2 separate regions of the Homo sapiens genome follow, and region 2 is linked to region 1. The links are contacts of gene promoters, found by promoter capture Hi-C in blood cells and fetal thymus (Javierre and others, 2016). All regions are on one chromosome and are shown on one strand. Each heading gives the region's core, a stretch centred on a gene start or on the middle of the fragment in contact. The rest is flanking DNA. Distances are from core to core; before and after follow the strand shown. Region 1 holds the start of RTP5 (receptor transporter protein 5 (putative)). Region 2 overlaps ATG4B (autophagy related 4B cysteine peptidase).

What was found. Contacts are between HindIII fragments. The CHiCAGO score rates a contact against its expected background, and 5 or more counts as called.
Region 2: a contact is called between a fragment that was not itself captured here and the fragment with the promoter of RTP5 in region 1, in 2 of 17 cell types (megakaryocytes and endothelial precursors). The highest score is 8.0, in megakaryocytes.

The regions. Positions count from the first base shown.
Region 1 is chr2:241,867,928-241,871,996 of GRCh38, forward strand. RTP5 (receptor transporter protein 5 (putative)) reads left to right here and starts at 1,802. Exons shown (of 2, transcript NM_173821.3): 1 at 1,802-1,987; 2 at 3,787-4,069. The coding sequence starts at 1,830. RefSeq lists an enhancer at 3,886-4,069. The HindIII fragment of the contact is 6,184 bases long and covers 1-4,069 here.
Region 2 is chr2:241,658,592-241,662,660 of GRCh38, forward strand. ATG4B (autophagy related 4B cysteine peptidase) reads left to right here. Exons shown (of 13, transcript NM_013325.5): 7 at 517-596. Among named protein-coding and RNA genes, the nearest start is that of ATG4B, 23 kb to the left of the region's middle. RefSeq lists enhancers at 2,033-2,534, 2,535-3,034. The HindIII fragment of the contact is 2,528 bases long and covers 519-3,046 here.

The DNA of each region.
Region 1 (4,069 bases), core at 552-3,051:
GGCTCTGGGGGGCTGTGGTGGGAGGAGGTCCTCTGCAGGGACCCCTGTGGACCGAGGCTTTTGGAGGCAAGTGGACAGTAGGTGTCTCTTAGACCCCTGCGGGGGCACACGACCAGGACCACAAGGGGCCCACACACGCACAGTGGCCCGGAGCCAACCAGCAAACCCCAGGACCTTAGATACAGCCCGGCGAGTGAGTTAGGATTGCTCCGGCTAGCTGTGTGATCATCCACAGTGCCAGAGAACAGTGCCTCGAGACCACAGTGGCAGCTGGCTTACTTCTCGTGTGAACAGGAAACCCAGAGGTGGGCGACCCTCCAGTGGTGTGACGACTCCATCTGTCACCACAGCCCCGGGCTCCCGCCTTCCTGCTCCTTGGGCTCACAGCTCTGTGCTTGAGGCAGGTCTAAGACAGGCTGGAGTGCGGCCATCATCCCAGCACTGATGGATAGAAGAAAATGAAGCTGGGATGAGAAACGCGGGGCTTTCCCTGGCAGTCTGGCCCTGTATGGAGGCCCCTTCCCAGAGTGCGTCCCACTGGCTTCCTCTTCTATCTTGCAGTCACACCTAGCTGCAAGGCGGGAAGATGTCACAGGTTTGAAAGGGCCGAAAAGAAGGTTCAGAAATGAAAACTATGACAAGGCGCTTGCCAGCATTAGCTGCAGAGTCGACAGAGACGAGGAGATAATGTGTGAAGTGGTAGAAAAATGAGAAGAGATTGTTCAGTGTGCAGGGCAGAGAGATGGCGAGATGGGAGCTGTGAGGAGAGCCGGGTGGCCGGGAGCCTCCCGGGGGCAGATCTGTGCTGAGGTTTTGCAGGGATCAGCTGGCTGTCTCCGCCCCTGCACGTCCCGGCTCCTTCTCAGCTCACCCTTTCTTGTTGTGCCATGACAGGTGGCTGCCACGCACAGCAATGCTGTTGAATCTCAGAAATTAAACAACCTGAAAAGGCGTGAGAAGCTGGGCACATGCATGAATTGTTTATGTAAAGCTCAGAAGCTGCACAGCTAAAGGGCTCGGTGAGGGAGGCATCATAGGTGTTGAAGCCTCAACGTTGTCTGTGCAGGCACGGCCAGGCTGGTGGCACCTCTGCCAGGAGGGCAGGGGGTGGGGGTGGGGCCGCGGGCTGAGATCGGGAGGGAACAGGCAGCCAGCTCTGGAGGCTGGCAGAGCGAGGTTTTGTTTCTTCCTATAGGACGTGGTGACTTAAGACTTTAGAATAATTTGTGAAGCTCTGCATTTATGTTTTAGGCATTTTATGTAAATATTTTATATTTCTCACTAGTAAAAAGTTTAAGAGAATACACCCACGGGACAATCTGCAATGATACACGTTCTATAAAGTTCTTCTCAGCTTTGTTTGTGTGAAAAGCATTAGTGCTGTTTGCAGAGAGAAGCTGAGTGAATAAGTTACATGATAGCCACAAGCTGGAAAAATACCAAGTGTTCAGCAAGGGATGAGTGTGGGCCACCGCTCCTGATGTGCACTAGAAAGAGAGGGCTGTGGATGATTCCTTGGTGCGATGTGTGAAAACACCCGGGCCTCTACACGCACGGGTCTGGGGAGGCCCCTGCGTGTCCACGGGCCCACGCCCACCACCACCACCACGGTGCTGCCACAGGGATGCTCTCTGGGGGGCGGGGTCATGGGAGATTGCATTGTATTGTATTTTTCCTTTCTGCTTCCCATTTCTCGGAGACAAATCTGGTTGCCATGGAGACCATGCTGTTGTCAAGGTGGCTGATTGGCCGGCGCGGGATGCGGGGACGTTTCCTTGGGCCCCCGGCGGGCGCAGCCCTCAGCCCACACTGCGGAGCCAGGCGGCAGCATGGACCGGGCTGGGGCAGACATGTGGGCCAGCACCTTCACCCTGGCCATGGCCGAGAGGAAGCCCCAGGACGTCTGGGTTCTGCTACCTGAGCACAGCCTGGTCCCGGGATGCCTGGACGGCGGTGGTGTCCAGTACCTGCTGGTGGGGCTCTCGAGGTGCGGCCAGAGGTTGGGGACCCTGGGAGAGGCAGGGGGCTGAAGGTGCTTTTCCACGGGACCTTGGGTGGTCCCAGAGGCTGGGTGGGGCTGTTGGGCCTCGTCTTGTCCCCGAGACGGGAGGGTGGGGCTGGGTGCTCCTTCTCCCGCCGGAGCCCCTGCCTCGCCATGCTGGGCACACGGCTGCTGACGCAGGGGTCCCGGGGAAGACATGGCGGGTGCCTCATGGAGAGTTTGGTTTCCCTCACTCGGCTCCTTGGGCCAGCGCTGCCCTTGGACACAGGCTCATCTCCTGCTTCCATGGCACTGCCGTGGTCTCGCAGCCATCAGTGCTGACAGGTGGGCCCTGGGGCGTGCCGGAGCCTGTGGTCACCATCCGGCCCTGTGTTGCACACAGCGGGGTGCTCGGCCCTGATCGGGGGCCCGGGGTGGCTGTGGGTCACAAGTGAGCCTCACAGGCCGTCATCACGGTTGTGGTGCCGTCAGCGCAGCAGGGCGGGCGCCATGCGCTTCTCCAACTGGCAAGGCATCCACAGCTCGGCCGGGTGCCAGCTGGGAGGGGCGCGGGGCAGCTCCACATCCTCGCAGATGCCCGGCCTGACAGGCCCCCAGGCTGCTGGCTGGTCCGTCCCTCTGTGGAGACACCCTGGGCAAAGGGGGAGTCGTCCTGCCCTTTGACACAGCTCCTCAGTGCCTGAGACCCCTGGGGCCAGGTGTGTGCAGAATCCCAGCTTTTTCAGAAGCTGGGAAAGTAATAACCCGTGTTGGGGTCTGAGAAGTGCTGGGAAGCACATCACTGTTCCCACAGCCAGGTGGAGATGGCTCTGAGCGGCTCCCAGCTGGCGGGAGAGAACTGAGGACGGCTGCCCCAACATGCAGCCCCAGCGCCCGTGGCTTTGGCTCCTCAGTCCCATTTAAATAAAGTCAGCAGTTCAGTTCCTCCAGCACGAACGTGTCCACGGGCTCTGTGGCCAGTGTGGTTGGAGGCTGCAGGCAGGGCAGTGTGGCTATAGAACATTCTGTCATCCAGAAACTTCCACTGCCTGGAACTGAATCATAGCCTCTCACTCATGCAGGGTTCCCTGAAGCTCACAGCTGCTTGTGTGGCTAGCAAATGGTCACCGGTCTGATGACCGCCATGGACAAGCCAATCCCTCCCAGTGCTCTCCCCAAACCTCTCCTCGCCTGGTGACGCCCAGCAGGGCTGCCCGGGCCATGACCGCAGGCCTCCGTGACATCCTTCCCCTCAGCTGGCAGGCGACCTCCTGGATCGCCTCCTCTCAGTCAGGACAGGGACCCCCACTTGCTGAGCCCCCAGGGACAGCCCCCACATGCATGCTTTTCCCCTCCTAAGTGTGTCGGCAGGCCTGCCTCTTCCTGTGTTAACCCCAACTCACAAAACACCAGCAGAGCCACGCAGGTGGCAGGCTGCCGACGCCTCACGGAGGCCAGGCTGGAGCGGGTTTTGTTGAAAAACTGCTGAGAGGAGGTTTGCTTTGCTTCTCAGTGCTCCACATGAGGGGGCTGCGGGCTAGTGCGCATGGGCCTGCTTTTGCCTGTGTGTGGCCGAGGGGCTGGTGGTTTCAGAGCCTCGGCACAGGCAGGAGCAGGTGCTAGGCTGCCTTGGCCGCGGCCCTGGGTGGCTGGGGGGTGAGGTTTGAGGTTTGAGTGTGGGATGTGAGGCAGGGGGCAGCGAGGCGCTGGGGTCGGATGGGCAAGGAGGCCGCAGAGCAGAGTGCGAGGGCTGGGCGTGGGGCCTCTTTCTCCTGCACTCACACACACTTCTTTCCCCGCCGCAGGCTCCAGTGCGGTCACTGTCCGGGGACCTGGGACTCGGCCCATGTGCACGTCCTCTTCCACCTGTGGTGGGACAGGGCCAGCCACCGGGGGCTGGTGAAGATGCGCATCTGGGGCCAGCGGTGCAGGCTGTGCCCCGCACCCGGGGACTGCCAGGTGAGGCCCCCGGGCGAGCAGCCCTTCCTCAGCAGGCTGGTCTTGCACATCCTGCAGGACTGCTACGGGGATGGCCCCGGCCCAGCCCGGCACCCCAGGGAGGCCTATGAGGGCTGCTGTGAGGCCTGT
Region 2 (4,069 bases), core at 533-3,032, 210 kb before region 1:
GAAGGGGAAATCCAAGGCCATGGTTCCTCCTCACTGGCGTGCACAGTCGTGCTTCCCACTAAGCTGCAGATTTCTCTATAAGGACTCAGATTCCTTGGTTGTCAGCTCAGCGTGTTTGGTGGAGGGGAGAGCAGAGCAGAGCGTGAAGGTGCTGGGAGGCCTGCCTCAAAGTTGGCAAAACCCACAGCGTCTCAGAGCTGCGTTCATGTTCTAGTTCCTGCCTCTGTGCCAGTGAGACCAGAAAACCAGGCCACTCAAAAGCCTCTTGCGTGTGCTCTCTATGAATGGAGGCTGGGGCAAGGGCAGGACCCCTGGGCCTCAGGCGAGAAGAAGCAGATTTACCCTCAGCTTTCTTCCTGTCTGTGGCATTGGCTGTGCCCCGGATTTTAGGAGCCTTGGCCCTTCTCATCCGAGAAGCACCTCTAACGCGAACCCTCCTTCGCGCAGCTATAGCTGCAAAGATGAACCGTCTTTGAATTGTACAAAAGCTTATGGTCATTCTCCTACTCTCTGTAGGAAGCTTGCTGTCTTCGATACGTGGAGCTCCTTGGCGGTCCACATTGCAATGGACAACACTGTTGTGATGGAGGAAATCAGTAAGTGGCTCAGAGTTTCCATGGACAAGAAAGTTGAAATCACGGGCAACATACACACTTCCTCGCCTGAGTCCCCACGGGAGCCTCGGCGAGTGTTGTCAGTCGCCCCATGCCGTGCAGGTGCTCCGTGGGGCCTGTGCGCCAAGCCAGATGCACGGTGGCCTCGCTCTCCTATCCCGGCGGTCATACCAAGAGAGGAGAGCCCAGGCTGTCTGGAGGCCGCGACTTGGTATCTCACGTCGTGTTTTGTGTCTTGGTTACAAATCGTTTATGAAGGCCCTGCTGTGCTTAGGCGCCCTCGTGTGGGAATTCTGGTGAAGTTATTTTGCGTGCCTTGATGTGCGACAGAGAGATGTAGCAACCATCTCTAGCTGCACCATCTCGAGCAAAGGCACGTCGTGAAGGCAGAGCTCTTTTCAGCTTTCTGGAAGAAAGGTCTGCTGCAACCCTGAAGGAACCTGGGCGTGGCAACATTTACATCTAGGAGGAAAACTGTGGCTCAGTTTTAACAAATGGGCTCATTGAGTGAGTTCCAAATTCATGTTTCACCTTCCATGATGTAGCCAAGCTGAGAACTCTTAAAAATGCCTCATTGCCTTTTTCACTCAGGGCCACCTTTTTCCCAAGGAACTTCTCAAAACTCCCTCAATTCCAATTTTATTGAAGTTCTACATGTAGGCTATTGCCTTGAATCCAATTTTCCATAAGAAAGAGCTCATTTAGGCCGGGCGCGGTGGCTCATGCCTGTAATCCCAGCACCTTGGGAGGCCGAGGTGGGTGGATCATGAGGTCAGGAGTTCAAGACCAGCCTGGCCAACATGGTGAAACCCCGTCTCTACTAAAAATACAGAAACTAGCTGGGCATGGTGGCACGCGCCTATAGTCCCAGCTACTCGGGAGGCTGAGGCAGAAGAATCGCTTGAACCTGGGAGGCGGAGGTTGCAGTGAGCCTTGATCACGCCACTGCACTCCAGCCTGGCCACAGAGCGAGAATCCGTCCCCCGCCCCCCAAAAAAAAGACCTCATTCAGAGCCACAGCCGTAACTGCGCACAGATTCACAGTGGGAGTGGGTCCTGCCCTGTGACTGTGGGTGTGCCAGGTCACCACACAGGTGTGTGCTGGGTCACAGACACGCCCCTTCCCTGCCTCTCCATTCTGTTTCTTCATCGTCTGGCCATCCTCGGGGGCATTGTGACACAGCGGAGGGAGTGAGGCAGGACTTTATAAGGGAGAGTGAGGCTGGCTTCTGCAGCATTGAGAGCTTTGCCACAGCAGGCTCTCCTTCCAGGATTCTGTTCCTCAGAGACTTGAACTTGGGATCATAACCAAAGGGTGTTTGTTTCTTCCATCTGCCTTTTTCCTCCATTCTGTTTCTTGAAATTTTTATAAAACATTGGAAACACAGGAAGAGTACAAAGAAAGAGAAAAATTATTGATTTTACCACTCAGAAATAACTCATATGAGCATTTTGACATTCTTACTCTCAGTATTTCTCCTGTGCTTTTCAAAAACTTACATAGTTTCCTAAGTATTTTCTCCTGGCCATGAGTGACAGCATTGTAATTATTAACTGGCTACACAATATACTATTATACCTTAGTTCCCTGTTCACTGCCCCATCCTCCCTCCCGTGTTTGGGGAAATCACTTACCCCCTCGTTCCGCACGCGTGCTCAGGATCTCACCAAGTCACACCTCAGTCCCTGGCCTCGGATTAGGGAGGCTGTTGCTGGGTGCAGTGGCCAGGAAGGCGCAAGGGTCAGGGCTTCCTAGAACCTCCGTCCCTCTGGGTGCAGGTAGCACTGGTGGGAGTGTTGGGGGCAGCTTGTCTGTGTGGACTCCAGCTCCGTCCCTTCGGGAGTCTCAGGGCTGCCCAAAGCAGTGCTGCTGAAACGTGGCTTGTCAGAGTGAGAGTGGAGTCAGGTCCTGGAAGAGCTTGAATCTGCATTTCCCAGCCCCTGGGGATGGTGGCTCCCGGGAGGATGTGGAGGCTGCCTGGTCTGACTGGCTTCGTCTCACTGCGTCAGCTGCCTGAAAGGACACTGTTCCTCACAGGAGCATGTGGAAGGTGCCTGATGCCCCCATTTAGGAAGAAAGGCATCCACATCCAGCCAGCAAAGGCACTGGCATTGATGCACAAGGCTTGGGTTTCTGGGTTCCTGAGTGTGGCGTGGTGTTGTGAGGAGGACATCGGGGTCGTTCTGAATGACCCCTACCAAAAGCCCCAGGAGGGAGTAGTGGGGGGAGGGCAGGAAGCAGGCTGCTTTTTTCAGTCGTGCTGCTAAGAGTGCGCAAGGGAGGACGTCTGAGGAAGAAGTCCGCAAAGCCGAAGCTAGAGAAACAGACGTGTCCTTGGCTAAGCAAGGACTTTTCTTCTAGTTTCTCGGAACTGCTTGTGGAAGGAGCAGTTAGATAGGAGAAGACTGATGCCATTCAGAAATTCCACTAAAGCTTCTTCCTGCAGCGAAAGAGCTGCCTGACGGTGTTCCCACTCAGATTTTAGGTGAAGCCTGTGGGGTAAGGGGAGACCTTACTGCCTACAGTGTCCCCATCCACCAACCCATCCCCCCCGCAACTCATCCTTCTGTCCACCCCCAGTCAAAGGCCAGCCAGGACATCCTTAGCATGCTCTTCTTGTCCTTAACGTTGATGGGCTTAGACCTTTCTAACGACAGTAGACAGAATGTCACTGAATGTAGGGAGGAAATACAGATTGGAAAACGTGTCAGTCTGGCAGTGAGGACAAATGACTCCAATGAAAGAAAAGTAAATACCAGAGCAAGCACAGTCAGAAACAGAGTGGGGAGGAGAATCACAATAGCTGGAACTCAACTCTCTGAGAGGCAGTGCAGCCAAATAGAGGCAGCTGAGAGCAGAGTATGTGGATTAGAACTTTTCGGGAGAGTTGGCCACTGAAGGAGTAGGAGAAAATTCCCCTGAGTTGGTGAGAGTTGAGTCTTTAGAGCTAAAGACCCCCAAATTTTTTTATCAGAAGTACTTAAACATACATGTTCCTGATAATATTTCCAAATTGCAGAAGTAAAGGGAAACTTCTCTAAACATCCAAATAATAGTATCACTACTAAGCTGCTTTGAAGAAAGGCAGTCTCAACTGGCCTGGGCATCTCATCTTTGTGCCATACCAAATGCTACTGGAAAATGTTTAGAATTCTGAGAAAAGACCTGGCTTCATGAGGTGAGAGTAGGTATGTGTACTGTGTAGTTGTCATTGATAGAGAAATATAAATTTTAAATGTGTTCAAAATATAAAGAGAACACGAGAAAATTTCAGGTGGTGGCAGGAATAGGCAAAAGCCCGTTGCACCCTGTTGACAGCAGGGTGTTTGTGACGTGGTAGGTCACACACTCAGTGCTGGGCTCTGGAGGCACAGAAGCAACCGGCCCAGCTACGCATCAGCCCTTGAGCCGATTCATGTGTTCGATCATATTCCTGAGACAGTAGGGTCTGTGC